Linked DNA regions of Homo sapiens: region 1 is linked to region 2. Evidence: promoter capture Hi-C in 16 types of primary human blood cells and fetal thymus (Javierre and others, 2016). All regions are on one chromosome and are shown on one strand. Each heading gives the region's core, a stretch centred on a gene start or on the middle of the fragment in contact. The rest is flanking DNA. Distances are from core to core; before and after follow the strand shown. Region 1 holds the start of SNRK (SNF related kinase). Region 2 holds the start of NKTR (natural killer cell triggering receptor).

Region 1 (7,699 bases), core at 2,317-4,816, 690 kb after region 2:
GATACTATGAGTGGGAGGGTATGGGGGTCCCAGAGAACTCCTGGCTCTGACTGGAGTGGGACAGTTAGGAGTAGCACAGAGGATGTGACATGGGAGCTGGATTTTGATGGGTAAGTAGGAATTCAGGAAACTGCGGGTGTAGTAAGTGGAGAAAAGGAGTAGGTGACATTTCCAGACAGAAGGAACAGAATAGGCAAAGACTGGGAATTGTGAAAAGTCAATTCTCTTTGTGAGAACTGGGAAGGCTGGAGACAGGGTACACATGCAGAAAAGAAAGTGCAGGAGAGGAAGCCAGGGACCAGATCAGGAAGGGCTTGGTAGGCTGTATTGACGTTTTTAGATAAGGGATTTATCAGGATTTATTTGCTGAAAGAACAACATGGACATGCTTCTTTTGGCCTAAATTAGACTTTGCATATTTTGGCAAGATCATATTGCACACATTAAAAAATATTCATTAATATACTGCTTACTATATGCCAGCCTTTGTTCTAATACTTTATATAAACTCAATCTCATCAACTCTGGTTCTCAAACTCTAATCTGTCTCAGAATCACCTGCAAGTCTTAAAACAGAGAAATCAGAGTTTCTGATTCAGTAGGTCTGAGGTGGAACTGGAAAATCTGCATTTCAATCCAGTTCCCAGGAGAAGCTGATGCTGCTAGTCCAGGGAGCACACTTTGAGAACCACTGCTTTACATCAAACTTATAAGAAAGGTATTATTATCATCACTGTCTTTCTCATTTTACAGAAGAAACATATAGAAGGTTATGCAACTTTCCCAAAGCCATCTTGCTCTTAGCAGTAGAGATGGGGTTAAATGTCAATGTCTGTCCTATCTTCTAGTTCACTGGTTGCAAACAAGCAGAGTTAAGGACTGGCATTTCCAATTCTTGTTTGCAACTATCAGAAATATCTCTCTCTCACACACACACACACACACACACACACACACACACACACACAGGACCTTAACTGACATCTGAGATAAAAGAGTAGAAGATGTTAACTGATGCCCATAGGGTGGTGAAGGAGTCTTTGAGGAACTCTTTAGGTCATTCCAATTAAGTATTATTTTGATCCTACTGGGGTGAAGCCAGGATCTAGAAATGCACAAGTATAAATGTATGAAATAACTAGTTAAATATGTAAAAGGGAATGTTGTTAAATAAAATGTCACAACTCAAAATTGAACTGTGTATGAATATTCAATGTCTGTTGTTTTAAATACATTTATTTTAAAATTTGAAATAAATTACAAAAACTAACAATATCCAGAGAAGATAACCTTGTTACATATGCTGCTTTTGGGGTTCCAAAGATGAAAATGACAATTCTTTCATCAGTCTGCTCAATTTTCACATTTTGATCTAATTTGTGGCACCTCCCTGGTTTCCTTCCAATAAACAACATCTTCCTTAAACTGGTGGCATTATGTTATTTTTGAGATCTGAATCACAGAGACTGTAATACAAGCAAGCATGCTTCATCTTGTCGTTTTGTAGAATGCTGTACATCTAATTAAAGCTTCTTACAGGTCCATAAAAAGACCCAACATTAAAAAAGCAGTGTGTTGGAGAAAGCCCCAGGGCAGAGTGGAAAAGGAGTTTCTTCATTAACTATAAGCACATTTGCTTAAATTCCAACTTAAGTAATACTATTAATTTGTACTTGAATATCTTAAAATATTGCCGAAGCATAATCAAATCATGTCACCACATTTATGGTGTGGAACCAAAACTGGGTCATATTCTTGCCAGCAGCACTTCAGCTACCCAAGAAATACTGGGGATGAATAAATGATTTACCATGTGGCCAGTACTGCGTCCTTCTCTAGAAGAGTATTGCAGCCAACTTCATTTAAATCAATTTATTATTTTGCCCTTTTTCATTTGTTTTGCTCTTTTATGCCTTGTTTTCCTTAGAAAATTTATTCAAAACCTAGTTAAACAGCAGCAATATAAATACTTTATTTTTCAAGAGCTTATATATTATCGTCATTGTTCTGTAGTTACTGATATAACTCAGGGACTACAGACCCAGGGGTGGAGGCCTTCGACCACTGGAAATCCCTTGGGAGACCATTACAGTGGTATTTTCTCCCTTTAGTTGGCTACAGAGTTCCCTGAATAGTGATATCTCCCTGAGGAGAAAAGTGCATGGTCTTCCTGATTTCTAGCAACAAAAGGACAAATTCTACAAATCCAAGTTAGGAGCTCTTGCTTAATATGCTGCTACAGTTACGATTTCCATGTCAAAATGAGATGACTCTTTTATGGTCTTTTCAGGTCAGAGTGATCCCAGGTGGGACCCTAAGGCGCAGAGGCCTAATCTGAGGCTTTCCCTGGTGCTCTCCCACCACCTGATGCAAGGGTATTAGGGTAACTGGGAGTCCCCTTGATCAGAAAACCCTATGTTATTACCCTAAGAATCAAACTGTTTGCACCTCCCAACAATCCACTCCTGCTTCCCAATCATCTTCAGACATGCAAAGTTGATGCATAGAAGCTAAAAGGCTTTTGACATTTGCAGGTCAACAGAGATTTGCTAAAACCATCTAGATTTCTCTTCGCAGTCCAGTCAATTCAACCAAGCCTGCAGCATCTCCGCAGCTCTTCTGGCTTGTGTCCTTCCTTGCTAGGGGTCCTTTCTTGGGGAAGGGTGGACACAACGTGGGAACAGAAGGGGAAAAGCAGGTTGAAGAAATCTGGCGTCTGGTTTGTTGGTGTTCCCTTCCAGGAACCCTGAAGAGCTGGTCTCTATTGCATGCCATGCTTCCAGGGGTGGGAGTCGGGAGTCCCCTCCCACCCTCTGCGGCCATCCCTAAGCTCCCTTCCAGAGCAACCTGGCCTGGCGACCATACCACTGAACCATCAAGGGCTATGGTTAATGCCCGGCGTGTTTTGAATCTCTGACTTCACGTGCTTTGATGTGTCCCCACGACCGTTTACTTTTCTATGCTGTTGCCAGAGGCTGCCTAGCAGGGCCTGTGTCTCCCGCTGACCTTTAAGGCCAGCACTGCATTCAGATGTTGGGCTTTTCCAATTTTGCTTAAATAACAACAAAATCAACCGAATTTTTTCAAATTAGAGTCCCAGGGAGAAGAAACTACAGAGAAAAAAATCATATTATGTATATATATGTATATACATATGTGCATGTGTGTATGTATATGTATTTTTACAATTTTTTTATCCTTGTTTAAACCTGGGCGGGAACCAAAGAGTAAAGCGCGTGCGGCTCCCTGCCCCCTGCCGCCAAGACGCAGTCCTGTACAGACGCGGTCCCTTCCCTCCGATTTCCCCTGACAGCTCGCGCTACTTTTTCCCGGCCATTGTTCCGTGTCCCTGGTGCTTCCTCCTCCCCCGTCCTCCATCCTCCTTGGGCGCCTTGCCCGCTTTGTCCCGCCAGCCGCCTCAGCCCCGACTCGCCGGGGTCAGAAAGCCGCCAGGATGCCCTCCAGCAGCCCGCGCGCCGGCCGCAGGTGCGCGCCGCCCCGCCCTGCCCTTCCCGCGGCCCCGCCCCAGCGCTGACGTCACAGTGACGCGCAGCCCGCGCAGGCGCAGCTACCCGGCACCCCCTCCCCGCGGCCGGCAGCCCGCTCGGTATTATGATTAGCGCTGGGTGCGGGGTTTCGGCGGCCGGGAGGGAGTTGTCGGCGCCGCGGCCGCTGCGGACGGACGCTCGCCTGCCGGCTGAGGTAGGGGCGAGCGCGGAGCGCGGCGGGGCGCGGCGGCCGTAGGCAGGGGTGCGGGGCCGGCCTCCGCCGCCTCAGTAGCCTCCGCTGTTGCCGGGCTGGGCGCCCGGGCCGGGGCGCTCGCCGCAGGCGGAAAGTAAGTTGCGCTCTCGGCGCCGGCCGCAGCGCGCGGCCCGGGAGGACGCGGGGCCCGGGCTGCGGTGGCCCGGACCCCGCGGCGCGGCCTGGCGGCGGGGCGGCGGCGGGGCCCGGCGGGAGCCGTCACTGCGGCGGCGGCCGCGGTCGCCTGGAGGCCCTGCCCTTGCGGCCGCGGCGGGATTGCGGCACCTCGGAAGGCGCCCGCATCCCCGCGCCCCGCCCCGGAGCGGGCCGAGTGCGGCGCCCGCGGGGCCCCGCGCCCTGGGCGCTTGGTAGGGTGTGTGTTCTTTGAATGCGTTTTCCCCTTTCAGAAGACTGTAGAAATCCGGCCTCAGCAAAAGGGTTCCGTGGTCAAACTGCTTTACAATAGAGTGGGGATGTTGTCTGTAGAGAAAGGGCAAAGGGGTAAGGAAAGAGGAGCAGTGCCATTCCCGAGGGAGAGCTAGAATTTTTGCAGACTGGGAGACTGGGAAATCTACGTTCTTTTCCATAGTCATCGCCTGTTGATTTCTTTCTGGTCCATTTTACAGGGACCTTCCTGCCTTTTACTTGGACTTGGGTTGCAGGAAAGTGGCAGCCTTTTATCTTCGGGGTTCTTGGAGCTGTGCTATTTGTAACTGTTGGATCGCATACAGTCCAGTAGTTTCATAGGGAGTTTCAGGCTTTGGGGAGAATTTAGCAGTGGAGTTCCTAAATCTATAGAGGTCTGAGGATATGGGACCTTTCAAACTGTCATGTTACTTTCCACCCCCCTTCCCTTTAATTATGTGCATTCTTAAAGTCTTAGGAACCGTGGTAAAGTTGACTTAATGCCTTAAACATTTTGTCAGGTTTTAAGGTGAAGCATGGCTTGCAAGTGTTGGACATCCTGTTGAATCTCCACCAAGTTCCTATCAAACATGAAATGCCTGAGTTTGGGCTCCTTGTATGGGATTGGAGCACTATGTCCCAAACCAGTCTTTAACTTATCAGAATATATACAGCAGTGTACTTTAAAGCCCGGGTTGTCAAGGCTTATGTAATCAGTTTGTTAATTTATAATCTCGTTACATTGCTTTCCAGATTTATAAAATAATTCCCTTAAGGAAATCTGTCCTCAACGTCTGCTTAAATATTTCTCTTGGAATTGGATTCTTGAAGAGGAATGTACTGTACAAGTGATGATTAAAGCATACTAATTAGACAAGTTTCTTTTTTTAAAGAACACCAAATACCAAATTTTTAATCTGATTATCTGTGTAATTGTCCTTGAGAGGAGAACAGGTGGACATTCCCATTTTACAGAACTAGAAATGAGAGAAATTACATGACATTTCCAAGGTCACATATTGAAGCAGTGTAGAAAGTCAGGTGCACAGTGCTAACTTTTTATAATACTCTCATCCTGAAGGCTTTTCAGGCAGGAAACTTTCAGTGCCACCTTTCAATTTTTTTTTAAATTTGTATAATCAGTTTTTAATTGTTCATTTTGTGCACAAAAATTACTCTCACCGTATTTTTTAATAATTCTGAGTATTTTTTTCTGTTTTACTGCAGTAAGATCCATTAGTCTAAAACATGCTAGAACTCAGAAGTTGTACTAATTTTATTTTTCTAGACCAGAAGTATAGGTTGGGTCTTTATGGTTTAGATTTAATCACATAATCCTAAAAGAAAGGCTTTTAAATGTCCTTATTAAAATTGAAGGGCTTTCGTGATATTTTTACTGGTCACAGGAAATACTGTTCATCTGAACTTCACTGTGAGTACTTCCCTCATACAGAAAGTGAAACCAAATAGAAAAATATTTATTTCTGGAGATACTGAGCAGCCATGGTTCTAAGTACTGGTATAAATAAGACATGATTTCTTCCCTGTAGCAGCTTGTCTAATCCTAAGAGCTCTTTACACTGCCCAAGAAGAAAAGGGTACAAATGAACTTTCCATAGGCCAGAATCTTAGGAATTAAAAACCGTAGATGAGAAACTCTAGACTTAATGTAACTGCATCCCAGCTGTTTGCTTAAAGATAGAGTGTTTATAACTAAGATGCTTTAGTAAGAAAACTGTTATTCAGAATTTAGGTATTTCCCAGTGTGTATCTATGTGCAGGTAAACTTAGAACAACTTAGGTGGAAAAATTGAGTGGATCCTAGCAGTTCTGAAGATAAACTTAACCTTTGATCATTTATTCATGGAATGTTTGTGTGTCTCTTTTGGTGGCCCTAGGGTAGAGGGAGGGCAGCAGTAGAAAAGTGAATAAAAACCAGTTCCTGACTGTAGGTTCTTAGAAGCTACTGGGGAACACCAAGGTAAACAGTAACAGTACGAACAGATGAACTGTGGTGAGGCATAGGGAAAAACCTGCAGAAGCACAAGGATGGCGGCAGTGAACAACCTGACATGGAAATGCTTCACAGAGGAGGTGATGGTTAAACTGGTCTTGAAGAATAGGAAGAATTCCCAGGCAGAGAAAAAGGGAAAAGGCTCAGGGGGTTCAGGGAGGGTGAGAAGACAAGGTCAAGTGGTGGGTGGGAGAAGAACATAGATCCAAGTGGGTGAAAGGGAGTTGAGAAGGCTGAGACAATGCAACTGTTCTTTCCTTAAAGCATTTGAAAAGGAAGGAGGGAAATGGGGCAGTTGCTTTGGGGGATGGAGGAGAAGGATTTTGGTGAGGTGTTTGTTTTGTTTTGTTTTAACTTTGGGAAGAGCTGGTATAAAATTCCTCAGATTTAATGGCCTCACGAGTGAGCACTGGAACTGTGTTGTCTGCTCTGGATAATCCAGAGCTACGTCATTGATCCTCATCTGCTTTTCTGCACATCTGCTTTGGGTTGTGGCTCTGTGTCTCATGGGAAACCATTTCTTGCTGGTGGTAGGGAAGGAACCTGTCTAAAGAGGATTCCTGCTTTGCCCTCCCTGAACATTTATTTCTCTGCTGTCACTTCCAGAGCCTCCTGAGAGTCTGCTTTGGCATCCCCAGCATTTGGCCTCTGCTCAGGTAGGCTGTTCCATGGCAAATCAGGCCTCTTTCCCTTTCCTTTTGCTATTATGCCCCCTAGTCTGCTGCCATGTGGCTACTCAAAAGTTACTTCAGACTCAGAGATCATTAGTTGTTCATCTAACATGTTTTAAGTTTTGGAGTATCTTCAGGCCCAAAGCAAGATTAGGTCTATCTGCACATCTAAACACATACCCTCTTGACTAATATTTGCCTGGACCGTTTAATGTAGGTTATGACAAAAATGCTCCAGGAACCTGGATTACACAACATAACGGTGGTCAAATCGCAGCCTCACTGGGCCTCAATTTCTTAATTGTTGACCTGCAGTTATCTCTCTTAAACCCATAATACTGTCAGCTCTTTGAAGGCAGAGACTACTTCTTTGATCTGTACATTATCAGACCCAAGTAATGCCGGGTACATAGTCTGTACCAAGAAGTGTCTTGGTGAAGAAGGTAAAAAAATCTAATCTTTAATTTGTTGATTTTATCAGCTTGTTATGGAAACCACACCCTTTCTAATAAAGCTGGGTTGGATTTGAATTGTTTTTCAATCATACAATTTTAGAACTAGAAGCAAATCCTCTACTTTCTGCTAGCATGTTGTAGATGTTCCTGTCCTGAAAGTCCAGTCTGAGAGAATGGCATCACCAGCTACCACTCTCCGCTAGAGTCATTCTGGATTTCTCCCTTTGCTTAGCCTCCTGTGCATTGAGTTCTTGGATTCTACTTCCAAAATGTGTCTCCTCCACAACATCCTTATCATCACTGCCCATATACCAGCTGCCCTCATTTTTAAGTCTTTAAGTAATTTACCTGGAGACATTTTCAGTTGTCTGCTTACCTGTCTTCTAGCTCTATTCTCGCCCTTTCAGTCTGAT
Region 2 (7,707 bases), core at 1,783-4,282:
AGGACAACTTTGGGTGCAGCCCAACACAAACTCATAAACTTTCAAGAAATATGAGATTTTGTTGCAATTTTAAGCTCATTGGCTATTGTTAGTGTTAGTGTATTTTATGTATGGCTGAAGACAATTATTCTTCCAATGTGGCCCAGGTAAACCAAAAGATTGGACACCCAATCTAAGTGAGCCCAATTTCCAAATTTACTATAAAACTACATTAATTAAAACAGTGTGCCACTTCACATCCATTAGGATGGCAATAAAGAAAACCAAAAAATAACAAGTGTTGGTGATGATGTGGAAAAATTGGAAACTTTGTGCACTGCTGATGGAAATGTAAAATAGTGCAGCTATGGAAAACAGTATGGTAATTCCTGGAAAAATCTTAAATGGAATTAGCTTATGATCCAGTGATTCCATTTCTGGGCATATATCCAAAATAATTGAAAGCAGGTTTCAAAGAGGTATTTGTACACCCACATTCATAACAGTACTATTTACAACAGCCAAAAGGTAGAAGCAATCTAAATATCCACTGACATATGAATGGATAGACAAAATATGATATACACATACAATGGAATATTATTCAGCCTCAAAAAAGGAAATTCTGACATGCTACAACATGGATGAAATGGAAGACATGCTGAGTGAAATCACCCAGCTACAAAAGAACAAATTTTTTTTTTTTTTTTTTTGAGACAGAGTCTCGCACTGTCACCCAGGCTGGAGTGCAGTGGCGCAATCTCGGCTCACTGCAATCTCTGCCTCCCGGGTTCAAGTGATTCTCCTGCGTCAGCCTCCTGAGTAGCTGGGATTACAGGTGCCTGCCACCACGCCCTGCTAATTTTTTGTATTTTTAGTAGAGACGGCGTTTCATCATGTTGGCCAGGCTGGTCTCGAACTCCTGACCTCATGTGATCCACCCGCCTCAGCCTCCCAGAGTGCAGGGATTACAGGTGTGAGCCACCGCACCTAGCCTACAAGAACAAATATTACATGATTTTACTCACATATGAGTAGACAAATACTAGAGTAGACAAATTTACAGAGAGAAAGTAGAAGGGTGGCTGCCAGGAACTTGGGAAAAGAGGGAAATGGGGAGTTACTGTTTAATAATACAGAGTTTCAGTTTTGCAAGATGGAAAATGTTCTGTGGACGGATGGGAGGTACTGAGGGTTGTACAACCGTGTGAAATACAGTTAATGCCAGCGAACTGTACACTTAAAAATGGTTAAAATGGCAACTTTCACATAATGTGTATATATATCTATAGATCTATAGATATCTAGATATCTGTAGATCTATAGATCTATAGATAGATTTTTTTTGTTTGAGACGGAGTCTCGCTCTGTCACCCAGGCTGGAATGCAGTGGACCGATCTCGGCTCACTGCAAGCTCTGCCTCCCAGGTTCACGCCATTCTTCTGCCTCAGCCTCCCGAGTAGCTGGGACTACGGGCGACCGCCACCACGCCCGGCTAATTTTTTGTATTTTTAGTAGAGAAAGGGTTTCACCGTGTTAGCCAGGATGGTCTCGATCTCCTGACCTCGTGATCCGCCTGCCTCGGCCTCCCAAAGTGCTGGGATTACAGGCATGAGCCACCACGCCCGCCCATGTAATGTGTATTTTATAGTTTAAAAAAAAAACTTATAAAATAGTGTGGTACTCAGACACAGATCATTGGAACAAAAATCCAGAAACAGACCCACACATATATGGTCACAAGGCGAAGGTAATTCAATGTATAAGAGTCTTTTCAGGCCGGGCGCGGTGGCTCACGCCTGTAATCCCAGCACTTTGGGAGGCCGAGGCGGGCGGATCACGAGGTCAGGAGATCGAGACCATCCCGGCTAAAACGGTGAAACCCCGTCTCTACTAAAAATACAAAAAATTAGCCGGGCGTAGTGGCGGGCGCCTGTAGTCCCAGCTACTTGGGAGGCTGAGGCAGGAGAATGGCGTGAACCCGGGAGGCGGAGCTTGCAGTGAGCCGAGATCCCGCCACTGCACTCCAGCCTGGGCGACAGAGCGAGACTCCGTCTCAAAAAAAAAAAAAAGAGTCTTTTCAACAAACGGTAATGGAACGACTGTATATCCCAATAGGAAAATGTTGACACTTACTTGACAACATAAGCAAAAATTAATGATATTAGATCATATCATAGACTTACACGTTAAAGACTATGTAAAACATATATGAGAACACAGAATATCTTCAAGAACTTGAGGTAGGCAGAGATTTCCTAGCACAGGAAAAGCACAAACCATTAAAATATAAAACTGACCAATTGACTTAATCAGAATTAAAAACTTCTTTGCCAAAAACGTCAAAACAATGAAACGACAGGCCCAGATTGGGAAAAAGACTTCGCAATCATTTATGTAACAAAAGATTTTCATTCAGAGCATACATATATCTAACAAAACATTTGTATCCAGAACTGTTAAACACGAAGGACCAGATTTAAAAACGGGCAGAAGACTGGAACTGAAACTTCACAAAAGATGCAGAATGGTCAGTAAGCACAGGACAAAAACGGTGCCAGTGACGCTGGTGCCAAAGCGGGAAGGAACGCATTCTTCAGCCTAAAAGACCTAACAGTAGGACACGGACATAACCACTCCCGGCCAAAAAGAACACAGAGCAACACAACGTCTTGGCTAACGAAAACTCAAAGCCTCAATTCACTCAGTTCCTTCACAGCGCTCGGAAACAGAGAAGTCTCGCGGTATCGGAAAATGCGCGGCGCTCACAGCCACACCTGACGAGATGGAGGGCGCAGGCGCATCCACGGCTTTCAGATTGGGCGACTGACTTCAAAGGGGGGGGCAAACAGGGAACGCGCAGGTATAGGAGCGCTGGCTGGAGGCTCCTCGAGAGCTCCCCAGACACGCCCCCGTGCGTACGCCCCCGTGCGTACGCCCCCGCTGCCGCCACCTTCGGTTGACCACCCCCATCTAGACTGTACTCTCGCGGTATTTGTCCCGACTCTCGCGGGGTTTAGCGTGGCATTGGGAGGCCCGGCCTGGGGGAGGAGACGGCGTTCCGTTAGCGGCGTTGGGGTTTGGCTGCAGTGGCAGTGCTTTCTCTTCTGCTCACGGGGACCCGCTCAGGCTGGAGGCCAGCCAGGTGAAGAGCTCGCCCGCATGCGTGCGCGCTGCGTGGGAGCCGCGAGGCCCGGGGCGGGAGGGGGCCTCGTCTTGGCCTCCTGCGCTGTCGCGACGGGCCGGCGTGAGGCACCGTGGCGCGGACTTCGTCTCAGCCCCGCCCTCGCCCCTGCCCTCGCCCCCGCCCTCGCCCCTGCCCTGACCGCTTTTCTCCCCCTCTCTCCCAGCTCTTGCCGCCACCTCGGTCGCGATGGGGGCGCAGGACCGGCCGCAGTGCCACTTCGACATCGAGATCAACCGGGAGCCGGGTGAGCTGGAAACTGGGGAGCGCTGCTGGGGCCGAGGCCTGCCTTGGCGAAGGGGAGGGGTCTACCCTCAGCAACCCTCCCCCGGCCTTTTTGGGAGCGGGTAGGAGGCGCAGGCAACTTTCCGTTTTCTCTTGAGAGAAAATCAGTGGGAGAGGAAGGTGGCCTGGGCACACCCCTAACTCGCAGTCCGGGCCTCTTCCTGCCAAACCCCACACACCCCGCTGCATCTCCGGACTGAGTCCTCGTAGCCAGCCTGGCGCCAAGAAAAGGAGGTGCAGTTCTTTGAGGACTTTTTCTCTCCCAGTGTCTCCGTGAGGCAGACACTCCCGATCCGATTTCCGGTTATCTTGCTTGGTGCTATGAAGTTTCAACTAGTAGGAAATATTGTGTGTTTCCTAATCACGATATATCACTAATATGTTAATTTTGCCTCTATTTTTCCTTAAGAATCTTTAGCTAGAATTTCGTGGTTCCTGGGAAAATGGCTTAGTGAAGATCTTTTGTGATAAACCAGAGCATTTTGTACCAGCAGAATTGCAGCATGCATGCACTTAGCATTAATGTTTGTCTTTAGGGAATCCAGACATTTGTTAGTGTATTTTTTTTAAATGAAACATTTCCTTCTAAAGCATAGTTATTTCATTCTAAGTAGCAGAGCGTGCAGGGTTTCAAACTGTTTTCTTAGCTTTTTTTGTTATCCGTGACAAAAGTTTTAATTGGAGACATATATATATGTGTTGTCTTTGTGCAACATCTTGTTCTGCATATTCTTATGAGAGCCTGCTACTGTTCTAGGGTCTGGAGATAGAGCAGCGCATAAAACAAAGGCCTCTTCCTTTTATAGTTTATATTCTATTGGGGGGAAGACGGACAACTAGGAAAAAAATAACAGTGACTTGTAGTTGGGATACTATTTTAATAAGTTGGTCAGACAAGGCCATTTTGAGAAGATGAGATTTAAGCAGGTATCAGAAGGAGATGAAGTGAGCCGTATTTAAGAAGAGCATTCGTGGTAGAGGGAAACAGCACAGCCCTGAGGTGAGGAGTAGTATACAGTCAGGCGCCAAATGACATTTCTATCTTTAACAATGGTCTTATATATAATACCTTTTTTTGGTAACTTTTTAATGTTTAGCTGTGTTTAGATATACAAATACTTCATTGTGTTAAAGTTGCCTACGGTATTCAGTGGAGTAACATCCTGTACAGGTTTGTAGCCTAGGAGCAAATAGACTATATAGCTTAGGTGTGTAGTAGGCCGTACCATCTAGGTGTGTTTAAATACATTCCATGATGTTCACACAATGACGAAATTGCCTAATTACACATTTCTCAGAATCCGTCCTGGTTATTAAACAATGGAGGACTGTACTTGCATGTTTGAGGGACAGCAGGGTGCCCAGTGTGGCTGGAGTAGAAGAGGAAAGAGAATAGTAAGAAATGGCCTGTAGGACTGACTCAGTGAGGTAGGAAGATATTAAAGGGTTTCGAGCAAAGGGATGAGATAATCCTGGAAATTTGGTTGCCTTCTCTCTCTTTTTAATGTTTTTAGCCTTGATTGATCTTTTTTTTTTTTTTTTTTAAATAAGTGTTACTAGAAAGCCTTGATGGACCTTAATCTTTATTTTGTAGTGAATCCATGCTTTAGATAACAGGGTTATTTTCTATTAAGAATTAAAAATAGCTCACGCCTGTAATCCCAGCACTTTGGGAGGCAGACGCGGGTGTATCATTTTGAGGTCAGGAGTTCGAGACCAGCCTGGCCTACATGGCGAAACCCCATCTCTACAAAAAATAAAAAAATTAGCTGGGCATGGTGGCTCTCTTAGTTTTTGCCTGTAGTCCCAGCTATTTGGGAGGCTGAGACTGAAGGACTGCTTGAGCCTGGGAAGCAGAGGTTGCAGTGAGTAGAGATTATACCACTGCATGTCAGCCTGGGTGACGGAGTGAGACCCTGTCTCAAAAAAAAAAAAAAAGAAAAGAAAAGAAAAATAGTAGATTGCTGAAGAGTAGAAGTATGACCAAGCATGGTGGCTCATACCAGTAATCCCAGTACTTAGGGAGGCCCAGGCAGGAGGATTGCTTGAACCCAGGAGTTTGAGACCAGCCTGGGCAATATAGCAAGACCCTGTCTACAAAAAACAATTTTTTTTTAATTAGCCAGGCATGGTGGTGCTCACCTGTACTTGGAAGGGTGAGGTGGGAGGATGGCTTGAGCTCAGGAGTTTAAGGCTGCCATGAGCTATGATTGCACCACTGCACTCCAGCTTGGTCAACAGAGCAAGATCTTGTTTCTAAAAAAAAAAAAAAAAAAAAAAAAACAGCTTAAGAAAAAGTACAAATAAAAATTTCTGTAGTTAAGTACTCCTTTCCTAGTAAATGTTCAGATCCTAGATTTGCACATAACCTGTGTTGTGAAAAATCTCCAGAATATGTTTGACAAATGTTCAATGAACCTCATTCCTCAACATCCAAGGCAATTCATTGTGATAGATGTGTAGATGTGATTAGCACTCTTGAGAACGCCGAATCATATAAAACAAGGAAATGCAATGCTTACATTGTTCTAGGTTTAATCATTTGATAGTTGGAAATTTCATATGGTTCAGTCTTGTGAAATAACTAGCACTTTTTGAGTATATTAACTAAATAGTGGATTTTACACAACTTTTTTTTTTTTTTTTTTTTTGAGGCGAAGTCTCACTTTTTCACCCAGGCTGGAGTGCAGTGGTGCCATCTCGGCTCAGTGCAACCTCCGCCTCCCAGGTTCAAGCGATTCTCCTGCCTCAGCCTCCCTAGTAGCTGGGATTACAGGCATGTGCCACCACCCCTGGCTAATTTTTTTGTATTTTTATTAGAGACAGGGTTTCATCATGTTGGCCAGGCTGGTCTGAACTCCTGACCTCAAGTGATCCGCCCACCTCGGCCTCCGAAAGTGCTAGAATTACAGGTGTGAGCCACGGTGCCTAGCCTGTGGTTTTTATTAAAGAAATTGGTGCATTTTATCTAAGTTGTCAAGTTTATGTGCTTAGAGTTGTTTGTCACAGCCTCTTTTAATATCTGTGGGGTCTGTAGTGGTGTCTCTTTTCATTCCTGATATTGATAATTCTTCCTTTTGTCTTTTTCCTTTGTCAGTCTGACGAGAGGTTTATTCATTATACATTTTCAGAGAACCAGATTTTGATCTGATTGAATTTTGTTTCTATTTTTGTTTTCAATTTCATTGTTCTCTTTCTTTCTAATGCTTGCTTCAATTTTTATTTTGTTCTTTTTCTAGTTTCTTAATGTTGAAGCATAGATTGTTGATTTGATACCTTTTTTTTTTGAGACAGTCTCAAATGACTTTTAATTTAATTCCATTATGGCTAGAGAACACACATGATTTCCGTTCTTTGTGCACTTGAATGTACATTCTGCACTTGAATGTACATTTTTGTGTAGTGTGTTCTATAAATGTCAAATCCAGTTGGCTATTAGTGTTGGTCAATTCTTTTATATCTTTGCTGATTTTCTACTTGTTTATTGATTACCAGGAGAAGAGTATTGAAGTCTGCAACTATAACAACTGTAATTGTGGATTTATCTATTTCTCTCCTTTTTTTTTTTTTTTTTTTTTTTTTTTTTTTTTTTTTTTGAGACTGAGTCTTGCTCTGTCGCCCAGGCTGGAATGCTGGAGTGCAGTGGCATGATCTTGGCTCACCACACCCTCTGCCTTCCTGGTTCAAGTGATTCTCGTGCCTCTGCCTCCCCAGTAGCTGGGACTACAGGTGTGAGCTACCATGCCTGGCTAATTTTTTGTATTTTTAGTAGAGACAGGGTTTCTTCATGATGCCCAGGCTGGTCTTGAACTCCTGGGCCCAAGCAATCCACCTGCCTCGGCCTCTCGAAGTGCTGGGATTACAGGCATGAGCCATCATGCCCGGCCGTATTTCTCTTTTAAGTTCTCTTAGTTTTTGCATCATTCATTTTGAGGCTCTTAGGTGGGTACATACATATTTAGGATTGTTGTCTTCTTAGTGAACTCTTTTATTATTATGTAATGACACCTTATATTCCTAGTAACTTTCCTGGCTCTGAAGTTTCCTTTGCCTCAGATATGAATATAGTTACTTCCGTTTTATTAGTGTTTACATGGTATATCATTTTCAATCCTTTTACTTTTAACCTTTCTGTATAATATTTAAAGTGGATTTCTTCTGGATAGCAAATAGATGGGTCTTGTCCCACTCTGACAATGTCTTTTAGTCAGTATGTTTAACTGTATACATTTAATATAATTAGTTATGTTTAGATTTG

What was found. Contacts are between HindIII fragments. The CHiCAGO score rates a contact against its expected background, and 5 or more counts as called.
Region 1: the fragment with the promoter of SNRK here is called in contact with the fragment with the promoter of NKTR in region 2 in 6 of 17 cell types (total B cells, naive CD8 T cells, total CD4 T cells and 3 more); the score reaches 9.1 in total B cells.

Annotation. Positions count from the first base shown.
Region 1 is chr3:43,282,974-43,290,672 of GRCh38, forward strand. SNRK (SNF related kinase) reads left to right here and starts at 3,567. Exons shown (of 7, transcript NM_017719.5): 1 at 3,567-3,702. RefSeq lists an enhancer at 3,307-3,807 and silencers at 3,412-3,811, 4,052-4,101, 6,513-6,740. The HindIII fragment of the contact is 7,817 bases long and covers 1,528-7,699 here.
Region 2 is chr3:42,597,654-42,605,360 of GRCh38, forward strand. It overlaps NKTR (natural killer cell triggering receptor), which reads left to right and starts at 3,033. Exons shown (of 17, transcript NM_005385.4): 1 at 3,033-3,125; 2 at 3,331-3,411. The coding sequence starts at 3,354. It also overlaps a transcript of SEC22C not described here. RefSeq lists a silencer at 3,127-3,336. The HindIII fragment of the contact is 13,164 bases long and covers 1-7,707 here.